Linked DNA regions of Homo sapiens: regions 1, 2, 3, 5, 6 and 7 are each linked to region 4. Evidence: promoter capture Hi-C in 16 types of primary human blood cells and fetal thymus (Javierre and others, 2016). All regions are on one chromosome and are shown on one strand. The core of a region is centred on a gene start or on the middle of the fragment in contact, and the rest is flanking DNA. Distances in the headings are between cores, read along the strand shown.

The links. Contacts are between HindIII fragments. The CHiCAGO score rates a contact against its expected background, and 5 or more counts as called.
Region 1: a fragment that was not itself captured here is called in contact with the fragment with the promoter of OPA1 in region 4 in 1 of 17 cell types (fetal thymus); the score reaches 5.0 in fetal thymus.
Region 2: a fragment that was not itself captured here is called in contact with the fragment with the promoter of OPA1 in region 4 in 4 of 17 cell types (M0 macrophages, M1 macrophages, M2 macrophages and 1 more); the score reaches 16.0 in M0 macrophages.
Region 3: a contact is called between a fragment that was not itself captured here and the fragment with the promoter of OPA1 in region 4, in 4 of 17 cell types (M0 macrophages, M1 macrophages, M2 macrophages and 1 more). The highest score is 11.9, in M0 macrophages.
Region 5: a contact is called between a fragment that was not itself captured here and the fragment with the promoter of OPA1 in region 4, in 9 of 17 cell types (fetal thymus, activated CD4 T cells, total B cells and 6 more). The highest score is 11.8, in fetal thymus.
Region 6: a fragment that was not itself captured here is called in contact with the fragment with the promoter of OPA1 in region 4 in 5 of 17 cell types (M0 macrophages, endothelial precursors, M1 macrophages and 2 more); the score reaches 12.2 in M0 macrophages.
Region 7: a fragment that was not itself captured here is called in contact with the fragment with the promoter of OPA1 in region 4 in 1 of 17 cell types (erythroblasts); the score reaches 6.9 in erythroblasts.

The regions. Positions count from the first base shown.
Region 1 is chr3:194,287,062-194,289,803 of GRCh38, reverse strand. No RefSeq gene overlaps it. Among named protein-coding and RNA genes, the nearest start is that of LINC02048, 12 kb to the right of the region's middle. The HindIII fragment of the contact is 1,279 bases long and covers 823-2,101 here.
Region 2 is chr3:192,863,503-192,866,288 of GRCh38, reverse strand. The region is part of intron 1 of MB21D2 (Mab-21 domain containing 2); the gene reads left to right. Among named protein-coding and RNA genes, the nearest start is that of MB21D2, 53 kb to the left of the region's middle. The HindIII fragment of the contact is 1,529 bases long and covers 638-2,166 here.
Region 3 is chr3:192,902,934-192,905,633 of GRCh38, reverse strand. The region is part of intron 1 of MB21D2 (Mab-21 domain containing 2); the gene reads left to right. Among named protein-coding and RNA genes, the nearest start is that of MB21D2, 14 kb to the left of the region's middle. The HindIII fragment of the contact is 7,645 bases long and covers 1-2,700 here.
Region 4 is chr3:193,591,810-193,594,509 of GRCh38, reverse strand. It overlaps OPA1 (OPA1 mitochondrial dynamin like GTPase), which reads right to left and starts at 1,302. Exons shown (of 31, transcript NM_130837.3): 1 at 1,101-1,302. The coding sequence starts at 1,132. It also overlaps a transcript of ATP13A4 not described here. RefSeq lists enhancers at 744-823, 337-988, 1,424-1,473, 1,524-1,593, 989-1,640 and a silencer at 1,054-1,203. The HindIII fragment of the contact is 1,567 bases long and covers 297-1,863 here.
Region 5 is chr3:194,314,261-194,317,143 of GRCh38, reverse strand. No RefSeq gene overlaps it. Among named protein-coding and RNA genes, the nearest start is that of LINC00887, 2.9 kb to the right of the region's middle. RefSeq lists enhancers at 1,171-1,220, 1,086-1,586 and a silencer at 1,291-1,630. The HindIII fragment of the contact is 3,891 bases long and covers 1-2,883 here.
Region 6 is chr3:192,881,537-192,884,236 of GRCh38, reverse strand. The region is part of intron 1 of MB21D2 (Mab-21 domain containing 2); the gene reads left to right. Among named protein-coding and RNA genes, the nearest start is that of MB21D2, 35 kb to the left of the region's middle. The HindIII fragment of the contact is 2,337 bases long and covers 263-2,599 here.
Region 7 is chr3:194,257,798-194,260,666 of GRCh38, reverse strand. No RefSeq gene overlaps it. Among named protein-coding and RNA genes, the nearest start is that of LINC02036, 9.1 kb to the right of the region's middle. The HindIII fragment of the contact is 5,890 bases long and covers 1-2,869 here.

The DNA of each region.
Region 1 (2,742 bases), core at 213-2,712, 700 kb before region 4:
TTCTTTATTGGTTAGTGATGTTTAACATCTTTTCATCTGCTTATTTTTTATTTTTATATACTCTTCATTAAAATTTTTCTTCATATATCTTTTACCACTTGTCTACTTAAATTATTTGATTTTTTTACTCTTCAGTTTTAAGAATTCTTTATATATTCTAGATATGATATGAGTCCTTTTTCAGATATGCTGTTTGCAAATATTTTCTCCCAGTGTATAACTTGTCTTTTCTTCCTCTTAAGAGGGGCTTTTATAGAGCAAAAGTTTGTAGTGTTGATAAAGTCCAATTTATCACTTAAAAGTTTTTTTCTGTCTTTTTTTTTTTTTTGCTTTTGGTCTATGAACTCTTCACTAAACCACAGGTCCTGAAGATTTGTCCTTATGTTATCTTCTGAAAGTTTTATAGTTTTATGTTTTACATTTAAATCTATGGTCCATTTTTAATTAATTTTTGTAACAGGTATGATTTTGGGGTTGAGGTTCCTTTCTTTTTCTTTCTTCTTATTTGCCCAAGAATATCTATTTGCTCCAGTACTGTTTCTTAAAAAGGCTATCCCTTCTCCATTGAATTGCTTTTGCACCTTTGTCAAAAATGAGTTGGCCCTACTTGTGTGGGGCTCATACCTAGAATATCTAGGACCCATTTCTGGGTTCTCTATTCTGTTTCATTGATCTTTGTATCTATTCCTCATGCTGACTTGGTTACTGATGCTATCTAATCAGTCTTAAAATCAGGTAATATGACTTTTCCCAAATTATTTTCCCCAAACTGTTTTACTTATTCAACTCCCTTTGCTTTTTCATATACATTTAGAATAAGCTTGTTGTCTACATCTACAGAAATCTTGCTGAGATTTTGATTGGAATTGTGTTGCACCTGTATATCAGTTTGGGGAAATTTGACATCATTACTATTTTGACTCTTCCTATCCATGACTATCATATGTCAACCATTTACTTAGATTTTTCTTTGATTTCTTTCATTAGCATTTTGATGTTTTCAACACATAAGTGCTGGACATCTTTAGTTATATTTACACCTAAATATTTCATTTTCTTGATTATATGTTATATTAACACCTGAATATTTCATTTTCTTGATTATACATTATATTTTATATTTGTTGTCCATGTATTCATTGCTAGTATATTAAAATAGATGTGATTTGCCTATGTTTGTTGATACGGTTTGGATCTATTTCCCTGCCCAAGTCTCATGTTGAAATGTAATCCCCAGTGCTGCAGGTGGGGCCTGGTAGGAGGTGTTTGGATCATGGGGCTGGCTTCTCATTAATGGTTTGGCACCATCCCCGTTGGTGTTGCCATCGTGATAGTGAGTTGTGAGACCTGGTTGTTTAAAAGGAATGTTATATTTCTTAATAAATCAAAGAATGGAGTGATTTCATGATTAGAAAGGACATGTTGGGCCTGACACAGAGTAAGCCCTAAATGAATGCTCAGGGATGATGAATCTTCTCCCCAGTATCCCACTTTGCTAGATTACCCTTAGTGATAGATTGTTCACTCTCTCTTAAATTCTGGGCATTTGAAATATTTTCCTCTCATGTGCTCAAAACACTTTCATTTCAGCTTCCACTCTGCAGTCCCAGTGTCTGTCCCTAGGGCTACACAGAATGAGCCCGATTCCCCTTCCCTACGAATATCCCTGAACTCTCAAATAGGGGAAGCAGCCTCAGCTTCCCCAGCCAGTGTTTGTAAGAGTGAGATTTCTAGTCCTCTCATGATCCTAGTCTCTTTCCCTTGAGCAGAATTCTGTACCTGCACAGTTCTCTCCAGATGTGATGTCCAGAAAGGTCTCAGCACCCTGGGTGGAGCCTGGGGGACCCCCTTCTTTCCGGTAGGCAGCTTAAGCTCCCATTGGCTCTTCCGGCAGCCAGGTTGCAAAGGCTTATATTAAGCTGGTGGCTGGTGAGCACCCCTGGGCCCTTTTTATCTTTCCCTACATAAATCTGCACACCAGCTTTCTGCAGGTGGCTTCCCATAGCTGCCTTCTAAGGGGAGCTACATCAAACCTCAAGGAATTTACCACCATGAAAGCCTGTCTTGCCCCGAGACCTTCCTCACCTGCAAAGCATAAGCTTGGGCAGGGCTTGGAACCACATGCCCTAAGGCCCTTAAATCTGCCTGTATCTCTGCTCTATAATTTTCAGAAAAATTAACTGCATTATGGGATGGCTTATATTCAAGTCAGGGTCCATACAGCCAGCAGAGGGCAAAAATGGTGAATGCCGTATGGAATCTTATGGCTTGCAAAACAGTTTCTATATCACCTCCTTGGATCCACAGAATAACTAGTAAACTGTGTGAGGCAGGTAGGGAGGGTGGATCATTTCTATTTGACAGGTAAGGAAAGAGAGGTTGCAGGGAGGCTGCAGGCTGCTACGACTAAAAACAAAGAAGAGTCAAAAGTGACAGAACACCACACTCTGTTTATCACAAAACACTGCTTAGCATCTCAGGGCTCTAGGCTTCTATTTGAATTGTCTCAACCATCCTCTGGGTAGAAAGTTTTTTTCTCAGGGCATTTTTGGATCCAGATGATCTGAGCTAATCCCCCTGTCCCCTCACCCCCAGCCCCAAGGAGTGGGCTAGGAGTACAGCTGTGCATTTTAACGAGGGAGACGGGAGTCTCCAGGCTGCTTTCCAAGAAATTGCTTCTAAAATCATTTGCCTCCAGCCCCAGACAAAAGCTCAGGTATGGAAGCTTGGCTGCTCCTGACC
Region 2 (2,786 bases), core at 153-2,652, 730 kb after region 4:
CTTACACTTGTACATTGTAATTTTAGTATATATTTAAAGTTTGCTGTTGTTTTCCTAACCTGAGCATTTTGGGGAAATTCTGAGCCTTAGAGATGAACAATTAGCTTGAAATAATGATATTTAAGAAGAAAAATCTGTTGGTACACAAGGGTCAGTGGCTCTAGTCTCAGTTTCTGATGAGTTCATTTCATCATTACCCTTGGAATCAGAAACTTCTTTTTTTTTTATTTATTTATTTTTTTAGACAGGATCTTCCTCTGCTGCCCAGGCCAGAGTACAGTGGTACAATCATGGCTCACTGCAGCCTCAACAACCTCCCCGGCCCCAGCAATCCTCCCGCCTCAGCTTCCAGAGTGGCTGGTACTACAGGCATAAGCCACCACACCCAGCTAATTTTTTATTTTTTGTAGAGACAGAGTCTTACTATGTTGCCTAGGCTGTTCTCAAACTCCTGGGCTCCAGCAATCCTCCTGCCTTCACCTCCCAAAGTGCTGAGATTACAGGCAGGGATCAGCAACTTCTTAAAGGTGGCTGATAAAGACAATCATATGTTGAACACAGAAGAATGGTGAGGATGGGGTGGGGGTTGGGGAAGATTGGGAGGGGGCCTGGTAGACCAAATCTGCTTCTCTAAGCTTCATCACAGCCACAGGCATCTTACAGCTTCAATTCTCACTTTATCCTTAACTCTTTTCTTAGGACTCCCAAATTCAGAATGCAGAGGTGTGGTTAATTTGATCATGTTTCTGAAATGTCTCTTACTTGTAAGATGAAGCAAATCAGTACTTGCTCTTCTTGCCCTTCCAGTGGAATGTTAATGCATGTACTTTGAATTTCTACATACTCCTGCTGAACCATTTCTCCAATATACAATCCCACAAGCCCTTCTACATGCTTCCTATGAAAATCAAGCAAAACTATGAAAGGTGACAGCATCCTGGGAGCAGGAGACTGAGGGCTAATCTTGGGTCATCTTCTACCTTGCAGTTCACCTACCTCTGAGCCTCCTTCCAGCCTCATTCATGCTGATCAGCTCCCTGGGTTGCTGTAAGAATAAAGCTCAGGGACACATGAGAGTGTTCTGGAAGGGTGGAAAGCTCCACATGCAGGAGGTTACATAATTATGTTCTAAGATTGTTCACAGCTGTCAAGCGCGACACACTGACATCCTCATGCTCCTCCACCGTTGAGAAGCAGCTGTTACTTTCATTTCAGCCTCTCCCTTCTCTGTAGGCCAGATTGAGGAGAAATGAATGAATTAAAAATCTGTTGGGGGTGAGGGAAAACCATCTGAGATGTCTTCTGTCTGGTTTTTCATCTGTGAGTATTTTAATATTCCCATTGAAACTGCAAGGTGGGTATATAAGCAGTGTAGGAGGAGGAATGTGGAACTGGAGTCACTCTAAAAATGAAATAGTAGAAATAACAGTGCTCTGGGTGAGAGGGCAGTCACTGAATATGACTCTTAAAAATTGGAGTTGGGATCAGGCATGGTGGCTCACACCTGTAACCCCAGCACTTTGGGAGGCTGAGGCGGGCAGATCACCTGAGCTTAGGAGTCCGAGACCAGCCTGGCCAACATGGCGAAACACCATCTCTACTAAAAGTACAAAAATTAACCAGGCGTGGTGGCGGGTGTCTGTAATCCCAGCTACTTGGGAGGCCAAGGCAGGAGAATCGCTTGAACCCAGGAGGCCGAGGTTGCAGTGAGCCAAGATTGTGCCATTGCACTTCAGCCAGGATGACAAGAGCAAAACTCTGTCAAAAAACAACAACAACAAAAAGCACGGTGGTTCACACTTGTAATTCCAGTTCTTTAGGAGGGCAAGGGAGAAGGATTGCATGAGGCCAGGAGCTCAAGAGCAGCCTGGACAGCACAGCAAGACCCCATTTCTGCAATAACAGTAATGATGATAACATTAAAAAGAGGACTGTCTGAGCACCTGCGGGGTTTCCTGGACCAGTTCACACACAAACTGGGGTACTTCAGCACAGCTCTTGAGGTTTATTTCTTGTCCTTCCCTCCTTATTCCCCACATTTATCTGTATCTGGAAGAGTTAGGCCAAGGCCTTTTGACATGCCTAGAAAGTACTTCCCTACCTTGCTCACCTGGAGCACACCTACTTTTTAAAGATCTAGCACAAATGTAAACTTTACAGAAAGCTTTCCCTGATACCCACTGCCACAGAGGATTATTCTTCACTTTTTCATACCTCTGTGTTTGTAAATGCCTCTGTCACAGCATCCACTACTGATGTAAAGACATCTGTCACATTATGTTTTTACATTTTCTTGGTGGGGAGTGTCTTAGTCCATTCAGGTTGCTGTAACAAAATATCATAGACTGGGTGGGTTATAAACCACAGAAATTAATTTCTCACAGTTCTGGCTTCTGGAAAGGTTAAGATCAAGGCTCTGGCAGGTTTGGTGTCTGGCGAAGCTCCCTTTCCTGGTTCACAGACAGCTGTTGTTTCACTGTGTCCTCACCTGATGGAAGGAGAAAGGGAGCTCTGAAGTCTCAAGTGCAGAAATCCCATTCATGAGGGCTCTGCTCTTACGACCTGGCCTCTTCCTGGAGGCTCCATCTCCCAATAATCATCACCTTGGGGATTAGGATTTCAATGTGAATTTTGGGGGGACACAAACAGACTGTAGTAGACAGTGAGCTCTTTGAGGACAGGAATCATGTCTTCTTCGTCCTTGTCTTCATAGGGCACTGCAGAAGTTTTGTCACATATTAAGTACTCAGTAAATATTTAATAAGTGTATGAATGAGTTAAAAAGA
Region 3 (2,700 bases), core at 5-2,504, 690 kb after region 4:
GACAGGGCGTGCTCTGTCACTCAGGCTGGAGTGCAATGTCTTGATCTCGGCTCACTTGAACCTCTGCCTCCCGGGTTCAAGCGATTCTCCTGCCTCAGCCTCCCGAGTAGCTGTGATTACAGGCGCCTGACACCACCCCTGGCTAATTATTGTATTTTTAGTATAGATGGGGTTTCACCATGTTGGTCAGGCTGGTCTCGAACTCCTGACCTCGTGATCCGCCCACCTCGGCCTCCTAAATTGCTGGGATTACAGGCGTGAGCCACCATGCCCAGCCACGCCTGGCTAATTTTTGAATATTTTGCAGAGACAGGATCTCGCCATGTTGCCCAAGCTGGCAATAATTTAAAAACAAAACAACAGCTTTTCTACCCCATCCCACCCTGTCACAAGGAATGGAAAGGGGATGATTTCTGGCCTGGAGAAAGGCACTGAGTGAGGCAGACTGTAAGTCTGCCTGTGCCTGATGGGCATTCAGCTGTAAGCACTGTTTTAGGCTGCTTCAAGATCACCCTTTTAGCAGCTGCAGCTGTTCTTCATAGCAGCTGCTTGCGCGGATTGTGTTGTGATTAATAAAGGCAACTCAACAGTTTGTTCTTTCAACTGTGCCCTTGGTGTGCACAGCCTGCTTTTCACACAGTTTTGATTTGGAACAACACAATCCTACGGGCATATGGTGCCTGCGGGCTCATTACCCCGTTGTGAGAAAGATGGTCCACCTAGGTCAGAGCTGCGGAGCCCAAGGCCTCCCAGGGACTGGACGGTAAGGAAGATGAGTGTGGTGGGTGGCTCAGTAAATGCCGACTCCTCAGTATGAGTCAGGGATGCCAGGAAGGCAGGGTACATTGGTAAATGGAGATCACCTCTCATCCCTGTTTTCTGATGGGGCCACTGCCCTTCAACACCTGCCCGTTGTTCTTCCACTGCCGTGGTTCTGGAACTTCAGTGTGTATCAGTGTCCTGCTTGTTGAAACACAGATGGCCAGGCCCCACTTCCACAGTTTCTGACTCTGTAACTCTGGAATGGAGCCTGAGAATTTGCATTTCTGATGAGTTTCCAGGTGATGCAGCTGCTGCTGGTTGAGGGACCGCACTTTAAGAACCGCAGCCAAGGGCCCGGGGCCGAGGGTCTGGGCTGATAGAACTTTAGATGTTGTGGATTTTTATGAAAAATCTCCAGATTTTAAGTATTGAGAATAAATCAAATTTTAAAGAAACACCATGGGGTTTAAAACTGTAGGTCAAACAGAACACTGCCTATCAACTTATCGCCTCTGATCTGAATACTTTCAGGAAAGTTCTTTTGCAGCCTGCTCTGAAAACTGAGACCCAGAGAAGGGTGGCAGTTCATCCACAGCATACAGCTAGTTTGGGGCAGAATCGTGACTAGAACCCGGTGTCCTGCTGTGTGTTTGTCCTTGCATACTGTCTTCTGAATACATTTTCTCTTTGAATGGGAAAACGTTTGAAAATAATAATAACCACACTAAAATATTGCGAACCGTGTTCCAGGTGTGGTTTTAATTACTTTATGTATGTTAGCTAAATCAGTCCTAACACCAACACTATGAGGAAGGTACTTGTAATAGGCTGTTTTTGCATTGCTGTAAAGACATCCCTGAGACTGGTAATTTAAACCGAGGTTTAATTGGCTCACAGTTCTGCAGGTGGTATAGGAAGCATAGTGCTGGCATCTGCTCAGCCTCTGGTGAAGCCTCAGAGAGTTTCCAGTCATGATGGAAGTAAAATGGCAGCAGGCACTTCACATGGCGAATGCAGGAGCAAGCAAAAGTGGGGGAAAAGGTGCCCCCATACTTTTAAATGACCAGATCTCTCAACAGCTCAGAGTGAGAGCTTGCTTGTCACCAGGGGGATGGCCCAAGCCATTCATGGGGGATCTGCCCCATGATCCAGACACCTCCCACCAGGCCCGCCTCTAACTCTGGGGATTACATTTCAACATGAGATACCGGTTGTTGGGAGAGCAAATATCCAAACTCTATTAGTACTATTATCCTTATTTTACTGATGAGAAATCTGAAACACAGAGAGGTTAAGTAATTTGCCCAAAGTCACAGAGCTACTAATAAAGTGAGGATTTAACCCAAGAAGTCTAGCTTTAGGCAGAAATTGGCAAATAACTATGAACTTTTTTCAAGCCTTCATTTAAAAAAGCAAAATAAAACCTCTTACCATGCAAAGTACAAATCATGGACAGATTCTTATAATTTTAATGCTGCCAGGAAACTCGAAAATTAGGTGGCTTGACTTCCTCCCTCCTCCGTTTTATAGACATGGAAACTGAGGGCCAAAAAGAAAAGGGGACTTGATCATCCTGAATGCTGCCTTTACTTTTGGGCGGAATGGAGGTTATGTAAATGTTGGGTAATTAATGCTTTAAGAAAGATACTTGTACCTGAGACAGTTGGCTTCATAGCATTTGTGCTCCAGGGAGGATTCTGCTGACTTTGAAGACAGGGGAAGTCACTCCAAGAGGGCTGTGCTTCAAGGTAGGGAAAATTTCCCCTGTTACAAAGCCACCTTGTAGTTTGAAGTTCTCTTAATTGCTATTAGAGGAAGGATGCTAAATAAATAGCCTCATAGGCAAGGTGTATTTTTGGTCTGTCGTGTTTGCTTTGGTCTTTTGATTTGTTCTTCATCTCTTTCTCTCTGGTTTCTTTCCTCTAAAAAGTGTGACCT
Region 4 (2,700 bases), core at 53-2,552:
AGGCGGAGACAGGAGAATTGCTTGAACCTGGGAGGCGGAGGTTGCAGTGAGCCGAGATAGCGCTACTGCACTCCAGCCTGGACGACAGAGCAAGACTCCGTCTCAAAACAAAACAAAAACAAACTAACGAATGCATTCCATTCCTTATAAACACGATAAATTATCTATACCACTTAAAAAGGTCTGGAAAAAATTCAAAACAACTGCTTAGAAGTTAATTCAGGAAAACCACGTTTTTCCAATTTTGCTTGATGCATCTTACTTCCTATCAAATGCCTGCAACAATGAGCTAAGCTTGAAGGTATCTAATGATACTAGAACAAAATTTCCTATAAAATCCAATTTAATCTCATTACAATGCATATAGTAACGCACAGAAATGAAAAGATTTCTATGATTTTCTATTTAGAATTAAACCACCCCAGGGCAACAATGATTGAGATTAGAAAGGTGGTGCCACGTTCACGACCTTGCATCAAAAAGTAAGTCTCCCTCCCGAAACACAGAAAAAAGCTGCTATTGAAAGGGCATCTCGAATCACCGTCTCTGACACCGTGTGCGTCATTGCTCTAGTTCTGACTTCTATCAGCGGGCTAGGGAAAGAGACGGACGCCCCTTTCCCCGATAGAAGAGCCCAGGTACCTGAAGATGCAATGTACACATGGCGTGGAAATGGAAGAAAAAGAAGACACCGAGAGTTAGGAGAAATGTGGAGAGAGGTGACTCATGGACAGAGCCAAACCTGGCAGGGAGAGGACAGAAAAAAGGCAAAAGAGGCAACCAGAGACAGACAGAACACTGAAGACACAAGGGTGTAAAGGGCAGAGACAAAAGGACAATAGAGACGGGCCAAGATTGAGAGGCGTCCAGAATTTTCGGGTTGGGTAGGGCCAGAGAAAAGGGCCAGTATTGAAGCCGGCTCCGAACGTAAGCCCAGCCAGGGCTCCTGTCATTCTGGGTCCTCAAGAACATCTGGGAATTCTCCAACTGCCGTCGGCCTGGCCTGAGAGTCACCTGCACATTTTTGGAGATAGAGATAAGACAGCCCCACTCTCAAGAGGCCCCAGAATTAACGGGGCCAGATTAGAGCCTGCACTTACCAGGCCACAGCGGCCCGACGTAGTCGCCACATCCCGCCGGCGGGGAGGTCACGCAGGCGCCGAGACGGCCACGCGGGAGCCCCCGTGTGAGCCCCAGCCCGGCTCCCGGTCCAGGAATGACCCAGGAAGTGGCCCTCAGCAGCAAGGGCACAGAGCCGCGGCCGAGGCCCTCCCAATGGCGCATGGACTTCCGCAAGAGCCTGACAGGCACCCGTACTCAGTCCGTCACGGAAACAACCACTTCACCCTTTCTAGGCGGGCAGCACGAACGGTCCGCGGAGGACCAGCGCATGCGCACAGTGCGTCGGGAACGGACTGGAGCAATCCATCGCCTCTCACGGGGCCCCGCCCTCTTGCTTCCGATTTGGAATTCGGAATTAGCCTTGCAGGTTAGAGATTTGGCCAGGGGAGGGAGCGAGAGTTGGGCGGGAACGGGAAGGGCTAAAGGCGTGGAATGAGAATTGATGAATGCTCACCGGGAGCCATGAATTTATTAAGAGTTGGATATTGAGGGAGCACGAAGGAAACTAGAGAGTGCAAGGTGAAATACAGTAATAGCGTACTACAAACTAATGCTTGCACATTTGCCTACCTTCTTTCTTGGGCATCTTTGTTTGAAAGCACTTTCACATCGTTAGGGCAATCATGGGAGGTGAGAAGCAGGACGAAGAGTCATGGATAGGCTAAGTCCCTTAGAATCTCTGAGGATCAGATGGGAAAGGGACTTAAATCAGTTAGGCCAGTAACGGGTTTGGAATAAGCTTGTGTGGTTTATAAAAGGCGTCAAAATGATTTGTTCAACTGTTTCTTCCGGATTTTAAGCCCACCAGTTTGTTGAAATGGTCCTCGTCAAGGCCTCCACCAGCTCCCTATTGTTTGTGGCCAGTGAGCCTGCCACAGCATTCAGTTCAGATGCCTAGTGCTGAGCACTCCTTCAACTACTTTTTCTTTTGGCTCTCTGGCCATCACATTCTCCTTTTTCCCTGGAACTGCTGCTCCCAGGCTTCTTTGATGGCTCCCCTCCCAAATTTCTCAATGTTGGACAGGCCCAGATCTCAGCCATCTTGAGCTCCTCTCCTCCATCACTTTAAATACTCCTTTCCCCTTCCAACACAAACCTTTTATGTTTTGTAAGGAAACCAGGGCCCGTAAAAGGGATGTGGCCTGTGAACGGTTATGAAGCCAATTTTTAGGGACTAAAATAAAAGGGTCCTGTGCATCCTCTTTACTTCAGGGACCTTTCACCTCCTCCCCACTACCCGCCCCCCACCCATGCCACACACATACACAAATACACAGAGCATAAAGACAATTCCTTTTCCCTTAATTGTCAGAATCATAAGTCTGGACCCATGCACTCACAATACCACCAAGAGTAGACCTAGCCATTGATAGTAAACTTCCCAAATGCAGGACTCTTAGAATTTTCTTTATTTATTGTGGTGACTGTTTCAATGGCAGGTCCAGAGAGCAATTTGCTGTACCAACCTGTGCAAACTGTAGATCTTCCTGGGATTGTAGGGTTGTACAAAAAGTGTCTTTGTAATCGTTACTTCCTTGTTATTTTAGAAAATAAAATAAGAGAAACCAAGAGACTTTA
Region 5 (2,883 bases), core at 129-2,628, 720 kb before region 4:
GATGGAGCCCGGGCCGCCACAGCCCCCCTGGAGTGCGTGCCGCCTGATAGGTGGATCAAGAGCAGAACTCACATGCTGCCTCCTGGGGAGGAAGGGGGTTGTTTATGACCATATGAGCTTTGAGGTACCCAGGATGACAGGCCACCCTAGAACCCAGGGAGCTTGGGCAAGTTCATCCCCTTCTCTGGGCCTCAGTTTCCCTCATCTGTCCTGCAAAAGAATTGGATCAGATAATCTGGGACATTCTATCCAGCTCTCTGATCCAGAGATCAGGTTTGGGGCCGGGTGGGGGATGTGAAGTGGTCTTCCAAGCTGTCAACATAGCCTGATTGTGTAAGGCCTGCACAAATGGTGTTTAGAGCAATACTTTCAAACCTTAATGTTGGGTGAATCACCTGCGTCTAGAGAAAATGAAGATTCTAGCAGGAGAGAGTGGAAGAGTGGTTACCAGAGGCTGGGAGCAGGGTTGGATGGGGAAAGATTGGTCAACAAGTACAAAGTTGCAGCGAGGAGGAAGTTCTTGTGTTCTATGGCACAGCAAGGTGACTGTGGTTAACAGTACCGTATTGTACATTGCAAAGTAGGTAGAAAAGATTTACAATTTCTTTAGCAAAGATGAGATGATGGATAGGCTAAATACCTTGATTTGATTTTTACACAATGCATACATGTATCAAAACATCACATTGTACCCCAGAAATACGTACAATTATGGGTCAATAAAAAGCAAAATAAAATATGTAGATTCTCTCTCAATGGTTCTGAGGCGGGGTCTCTAAACCTGCATTTCTAACAAGCTCCCTGGTGATCCCGCGGTGCCGGCTGAGTCGGTGCCTTGATTAGGAGGGTTTGGCACTAGGTCTCCAGGTGTGATCCCGGAGCGGCAGCATCGGCATCACCTGGGAACCTTGTAAGAGCGAGTAGGGCCAAGCTACAGAAGTATTGGGTCAGAAACTCTGGGGTAGCGCCCAGCAATATGTGATGTAACAAGCCCTCCAGGCGACTCCCATGAGCTCAATTCTGAGAACCACTGCTTTAAGACAACAGCTTCTAAACTGGGCGGTGCATAGGAAGCACCGAGAGAGTTTTTAAAAATACTGGGGCCTGGGGCCCGCTTGTCGGGGTTCTAATGTAATCGGAATAGGTGCCTCCCGGGCATCGGGATTTTTACAGTCTCCCCAAGTGATTCTAATGTGAAGTCAATGAGCCTTAGGGCGGACAGAAGATGAGGGCTGCGGGGCTCCCAGGCTGCGAGCCTGCGATTCTTCTGACGGCGCTTTCCGGACGACGGCCACTAGGGCGCGCTGTGGCACCGCTGGGAGGCCGGCTGCGGTTCAGCCTCCTCTCGCCAGCGGCTGGAGGAGCTCCGGGCTGGGAGGCGGCGCGAAGCCCCGGGGGTCGGAGCCTCCGGGAGCGGCTTCTGGCCCAGGCCGGCCCGCCCCCGTGCATCGGCACCTAATTAATGCTGGCCGCGGCCTCGCCGCGCTTGACGTCAGTGATGTGCTCCGTGCTGGGGAGACGCGGCCTTTGCAGCCGCTCGGCACAGGTTGCTTCACCCTGGCCAGCCCTGCTGCCCGCCCCCTCCAGGCAGAACGCCGGGCTCACCTCTGGGACCGAGCCCTTGCTCATGCTGCTCTGATGACACTCACGCGAGAGTTTCTCCCCCATTTCCACCCGGCAGGACACCAGTTTCCTTTTCCATCTTCCCTGGCTGTTCTCTGCCCCTCCCCTGCCTTTTCAGAACACGGAGGGTCCCGGAAAATCCCACAGGCCTGGGGCTTTGCCAAGTCAGCCGCAAGAACCACCTCTCACCTTTCCCTTTCTGGGTCTCTCCTCTGCTCAGTTCCTTTCCTGTTCCTGCTCCTCCTTTTTCTCTCATCTGAGCCGTGTGGATCAGATACTTCCTGCCTATGCGTTCTCATGCACAGAAGTGGAAGAGATGGGATGGTGAAGGGGGGATTGCCTTCTTTAGCAGCACAGATAGGACTGCGTTTGTAAGGAGCGTTTTGTATGTTGGGGGTGACGAGGTTGCTGATGAAACTCTAGTGTTCTGTCCCCCACAGCCACATTACTCCCTTTAAGCAGCGATGGGAGTTGATTCTGGAGAGGAGAACTCAGCCGAGTAGAGCAACGCTGTCTTGTCTAGCTGCCCCAGCTGGCTGGAAGGGTCTTCCATGGCTGGAGGAGTTTCCCCAACCAGGACGCCAGAACTGTCTTTTTTTTTTTTTTTTTTTTTTTGAGACAGGGTCTTGCTCTGTCACCCAGGCTGGAAGTGCAGTGGCGTGACCGCAGCTCACTGCATCCTTGACCTCCCAGGCTCAAGCGATTGTCCCACCTCAGCCTCCTGAGAGGCTGGAATTACAGGCATGCGCCACCACGCCCAGCTAATTTTTTTTTATTTTTTGTAGAGACGGAGTCCCACTGTGTAGCCCAGGCTGGTCTCAAGCAATCCTCCTGCTTTGGCTTCCCAAAATGCTGGGATTACAGGTGTGAACCACCCCGTGCCTGGCCCAGAGCTGTCTTTATCATAAATGTTCCACGCCATATTTCATCTCTGCCCATCCCCTTATCCCCATTCCCAAACCTCCAATCTGATATTTGTGTGAGATTTCATTTGGAGGAAGGCCATGTACATAATGGTTTGGATGATGCCTGATAGCCTCCCTGGCTTTGCCAGCCCATAATTCTAAGATGGGAAGAGATGTTGCTGGGGAGAAGAGGCGGAGGCTTCTCTTCTGATTCCTGCCTGGAGCCCTGACTGCAAGGGTTGCTCCTGGCTTCCCCCATTTGAACCCCACCCCTGGCTGGCCAGTGAGGGGAGCATTCCCTACAGCCCCAGGGAGGGAGAGGCTGCCAGCGGCCAGACAGGGCATTGGGCAGATG
Region 6 (2,700 bases), core at 182-2,681, 710 kb after region 4:
GAAGTTAAGGAATGATAGGTTTAGAATGTAAACAATAGTAATGAAGGAAATGCAGGAAAATGCAGTTTTACATCACCACGTCAACACTGGACCCTAACTTTGAAAGGTAGGGGAATGTCCCATCTGATATACGCCCATGCCAAGGGCTTCGGACATGGCTTTTCATGTGTGTGAATCTAACTGGTTTTGACTCATGTTCACCTACTTTGCTGTGACAAGGAGCCTCAGATGCTGAGAGTCAACCATAGAAACAGATCAAGCTTGAGAGGGTTGTGAGATTTGATCTAGATTTGATGGTTGCCTTCAGGCAGCAACACCACTATTAATAGAACTTATTTTTTTATTTTAAATTGACTAAAAGACTCCCCTGTTTCTGGCAGTGAGATGTCTCTAAAGGGGAATCAAGGAAGCCAGAATGAAGGTGATTTAAGCCTCAGATCAGGGAACTATTTAATAGTTATGTATCTTTGGAGCTAGAAACTAGCTTTCAGAGGGAGGTGACTCTCCTAGTATTACAGAGGCATTCCTGGGACTGGAATGCTGATCTTTTGGTCTACTGATCCCACCGAACTCTGTTGTCACAGAGATACAACTACAACTACTGGATCATGTTTCCAGATACCTTCTAATGGATCGTTTCCTTTTCCCCATTCTTTCAGATAATTGTCAAGGATTTATATTCCTGGCAATAAACAGAAAACCTAGTTATAAACTAAGCTAAAAGCCATGTTTAAAATTCCCTACGCTTCAGCCACTGTCAATAGCTGTCTTCCACACTACCATTTTTAACCTAAAATATAAATGTTTATGTATATGTTTTACTCTCATGCTATGCTACAAACTAGATCTTCTTTTCTTATGTTTTTCTTGTCAATAGATAATTTTTAAAAAGTTTTAAACATGACTCATACAAATATAAAATGAGTACATGGCAAAGATGTATTTAACTCGTTAATGAGGGAACCAGTAGGAAGCTAAAGTGGTTCAAAGAGCATTTGAGGAGCTGTGTAGTTAATAGGCCCTGAAGAATACCGGCACAAGATTGCTAGGTTAGATATGAAACTGGTCAGGCTGGGCACGGTGGCTTACACCTGTCGTCCCAGCACTTTGGGAGGCCGAGACGGGTGGATTACCTGAGATCAGGAGTTTGAGACCAGCCTGGCCTACATGGTGAAACCCCATCTCTACTAAAAATACAAAAATTAGCCGGGCGTGGTGGCTCATGCCTGTAATCCCAGCACTTTGGGAGGCTGAGGTGGGTGGATTACCTGAGGTCAGGAGTTCGAGACCAGCCTGGCCAACATGGCAAAGCCCCATCTCTACTAAAAATGCAAATTAGCTGGGTGTGGTGGTGGGCACCTGTAGTCCCAGCTACTCGGGAGGCTGAGGCAGGAGAGTCACTTGAACCTAGGAGGTGAAGGTTGCAGTGAGCCAAGATCGTGCCATTGCACTCCATCCTGGGTGACAAAAGTGAAACTCCGTCTCAAAGAAAAAAAAAGGAAACTGGTTGATGTCCTGTAGGGCAGTAAACCAATCACATCTGGGGATCTTAGTTCTACCAGGCAGAGAAATTATATACATCTAAAATGGATAAAAATCTCAGTTAACATGTAACTTCATAAAGTCTGAACCATAACCAATGGTAAACAGTCAGTGAAACACAGGTACATCATCTCCTAGAGAATCAGATGACCCTTGGGTGCACCTATGAGACAGTACACCAGTATGGCATTGAAAGGACATGCTGCCTTCCTTTTGCCTTATTTCCAAGTGTTGCATAGTGTTTTGTCTTATCCTTAGTGTCACTGCCTTTAGCAAAGGAGCATATACGTTCATTCATTTGGCCATTTTGTTTAATAATGTGCGGGGCGCAGTGGCTCATGCCTGTAATCCCAGCACTTTGGGAGGCCAAGTCAGGCAGATCACCTGAGGTCGGGAGTTCGAGACCAGCCTAACCAACATGGAGAAACCCCATCTCTACGAAAAATACAAAATTAGCAGGAGAATCGCTTGAACCCAGGAGGTGGAGGTTGCAGTGAGCCAAGATTGTGCCATTGCACTCTAGCCTGGGCATCAAGAGTGAAACTCCGTCTAAAAAAAAAAATTACTAAATGTCAGTTTTGTGCCAAGTCTTAGGTTAGGCATTAGACATACATAACTGAATGAGACAGACGACCCTTGCCCTCAAGGAGTTCAGAGGCTATTCCGTCCTATAAAGGAAGTAGCCAGGCAAGAGTTCCCTTTAGGAAATGTTCTTTTGTGGGATAAGCAAGAGGAATCATCCTTTTTGGTTCACAGTTCCTTTGGATCCCAATGTTTATAAGACTGGGATAAAATGCAAATATCACAGAGAATGACAACCAGAGTTCAATACTTTTGGGGACAAGAACAGATAAACATTGATGCCGCTTCGTTTTGCTCATGTGGCATTTATAGCTCCCTAGTGATACAATTTCACAGGAATTTTGTGTTAGCCATCTGACCTGATGGGCCCTCTTTGGCCAGTGCCGCCAGGTTTCTCCAGAAGCCTTCCTTTCTTGGCCTCCACAGGTACCGAATAGCTTATTTCTCTTGGTTTGGCCAGTTTGTGACATAAGCTTCTGCAGCTTCTGAGACAAACACCTGCCAGCGAGGGTGCTCTTTCCCCAGAAGGGTTGTGGTAACTGGTAGACAGCTCAAACTTCGTAGCGGTCAGTACAG
Region 7 (2,869 bases), core at 208-2,707, 670 kb before region 4:
GGGGTCACAGCAGCTGGGGAATGGGGAACAGACAAAATCCCTGCCCTCATGACATTTACATCCTGTTGGTCCACTCATGGCCTTGACCTCATGGTCCAAGATGACAACATCTCTTCATTCTAGTCAGCAGGATGGAGGAAGGAATGAAGAAGAAGAAGGCAAGGGGTGAACTGACATAATCTCTTAAGGAAGGTTCTTGGAAGCTGCACAACTCTCTCCCTCCGTTTCATGCAGTGATTAGTCACACAGCTTATTAGGCTGTTCTTGCATTGCTGTAAAGAAATACACAAGACTGGGTTTATAATAAGGAAAGAGGTTGAGCTGGCTCATGGTTCTGCAGGCTATACAAGAAGTATAGTAGCATCTGCTTTTGGAGGGGCCTCAGGAACCTTACAGTCATGGCAGAAGGCAGAGCTGGAGCAGGCACTTCACATGGAGAAAACAGGAGCAAGAGAGAGAGAGTGGGCGGGGTGAGGGGGAGCACATGATTTTAAATGACCAGATCTCGTGAGAACTCGCTATCACGGAGACAGCACCAAAAGCCATGAGGGATCTGCCCCCGTGGTCCAAACACATTCCACCAGGCCTCATTTCCAGCAATGGGGATTACAATTCAACAGGAGATTTGGGCTGGGGTAAATGTCCAAACTATATCACATGGTCTCACCTAGCTGGAAGGGAAGCTGGGGAATATAGTCTTTATTCCATGTGGCTACCATTTGCCCAGCTGGAAATCTGTTATTAAGGAAAAAGGGGAGTTGAATAATTGAGAGAGGGGTGCTACCAGTCTCTTTCACAAATAAAATTTGTAATTTTAAAAATAATACATTTTATGTAATCTAATGTGCCCAGAATATTTTTATTATTATTATTGAGGCAGAGTCTTGCTCTCTTGCCCAGGCTTGAGTGCAGTGGCACGATCTCAGCTCACTGCAATCTCCACCTCCTGGGTTCAAGTGATTCTCGTGCCTCAGCCACCCGAGTAGCTGACATTACAAGTGTGCACCACCATGCCCAGCTAATTTTTGTGTTTTTAGTAGAGACACGGTTTTGCCATGTTGGCCAGGCTGGTCTCTAACTCCTGGTCTCAAGTGATCTGCCTGCTTCAGCCACCCAAAGTTCTGGGATTACAGGCGTGAGTCACCACGCCCAGGGCAGAATATTATTATGCCAATGTCCAACTAATATAAAAATTATTTCATGTTCTTTTTTTTTACTAAGTCTTTGAAAACTATGATATATTTTACACTGACATCACTTATATTCTCTCATTCATTCACCTACATTACATCCCTATTCAGACTAGCCACATTGCAAGTGCTCAGTGGTCATATTAGACAGTGTTCTGGAGCCTGGCAGCTTGCAGTGTGGTCCATGGGCCAGCAGCATCAGCATCGATGGGGAGCTTGTCAGAGGTTCAAGACTCCAAGGCCCCACCCCAGACCTCCTAAGTTAGAATCTGTATTTTAACAAGATCTCCACGTTATTTGTGTGCACATTAAAGTATGAGCTGCACTGTTCTATAATAATTCTTCAGATAGGATTTCCAGTAGAATCTAACAAAAGAGTCTAGAGAAAAGAGAAACTACCTCAATGAACTCTCTGGAATCAAGCATAGAAACTTGTCAGATCCCATTTTTCCTTTTTCTGATCCCATTAGACTGCTAATTAGACCTTCGGAGAAGGGGTGATTTTAAAGTAGTTACATTCAAATGAATCAATTTAATAATAGGGAAAAATTTAAAAACCCAAACAACATAGAATTGTTGGACTGTGAGTGGATTTAATTTTCAAGGCTAACCTCCAATGCCATGAGCAGAGCTTTAAAATATATTGGATTTCTCTTAAACTTCTTCCCCGTTTTTTTAACAGCTTTATTCAGATACAATTCATATACCATACAATTCACCAATTTCAATTGTATAATTCAAGGGTTTTTCATATATTCACAGAGTTGTACAGCCATCACTGCAATCAATTTTTGAACATTTTCATCACTTCCAAAAGAAATCCTGTACTCATTGAGAGTCACTCCTCATCTCTTCCTAGCCCTAGGCAGCCACTAATGTACTTTCTGTCACTACAAATCTGCCTATTCTGAGCATTTCATATCAATGAAATCATACCACATATGGTCTTTGGAGACTGGCTTCTTTCACTTAGCCTAGTGTTTTTAAGGTTCATCCATGTTGTAGCATGCATCAGTACTTCATTCCTTTTCATGGCTGTATAATATTCCATGATATGGATATACCACATTTTGATTATCCATTCATAAACATATAAAGTTTTAATACAGAAACCAGAGAAGAAGGGAACAAAACAGTAAGGAGGAATCAAGGAAATAATAGCTCCTACTGGATTCAGACTCACAGAGAGTCAGAGCTGAAAAGAACCTTAAAACTCATACAGTGCATTGTTGTCCATGTGGAGAACTGAGACCCAGCAAATGAAAACCCTTTGTCCAGGGCCCTCCAACATCAGGAGGCCCAGCTGGGATGAGGATCCAAACTGCTTTGACTCCAACTCCTCTGCTGTACTCTGCCACCACAGACACCCAGGGTCTCAGCCTGCACCTCAAGGTAGTCATGGGAACAGTAGTCCTGGCAGCATCAGGGCGAGGCATAGCTCTTCATCTTAGTCTTGGTCTCAATTTTAGAAAACCATGTGGAGTTGAGAACCCCAGGGTGGATCTGGAGTTAGTTTTGGAGAGCTGTTTTCAAGATCTGTAGTAAAATGTCTGATATTCTGAGCCTCTTTCCATGTCACATGCAGATATATCTCTTTTTTTCTTTGAGATGGAGTCTCACTCTGTTACCCAGGCTGGAGGGCAGTGGCGTGATGTCAGCTCACTGCAACCTCCGCCTCC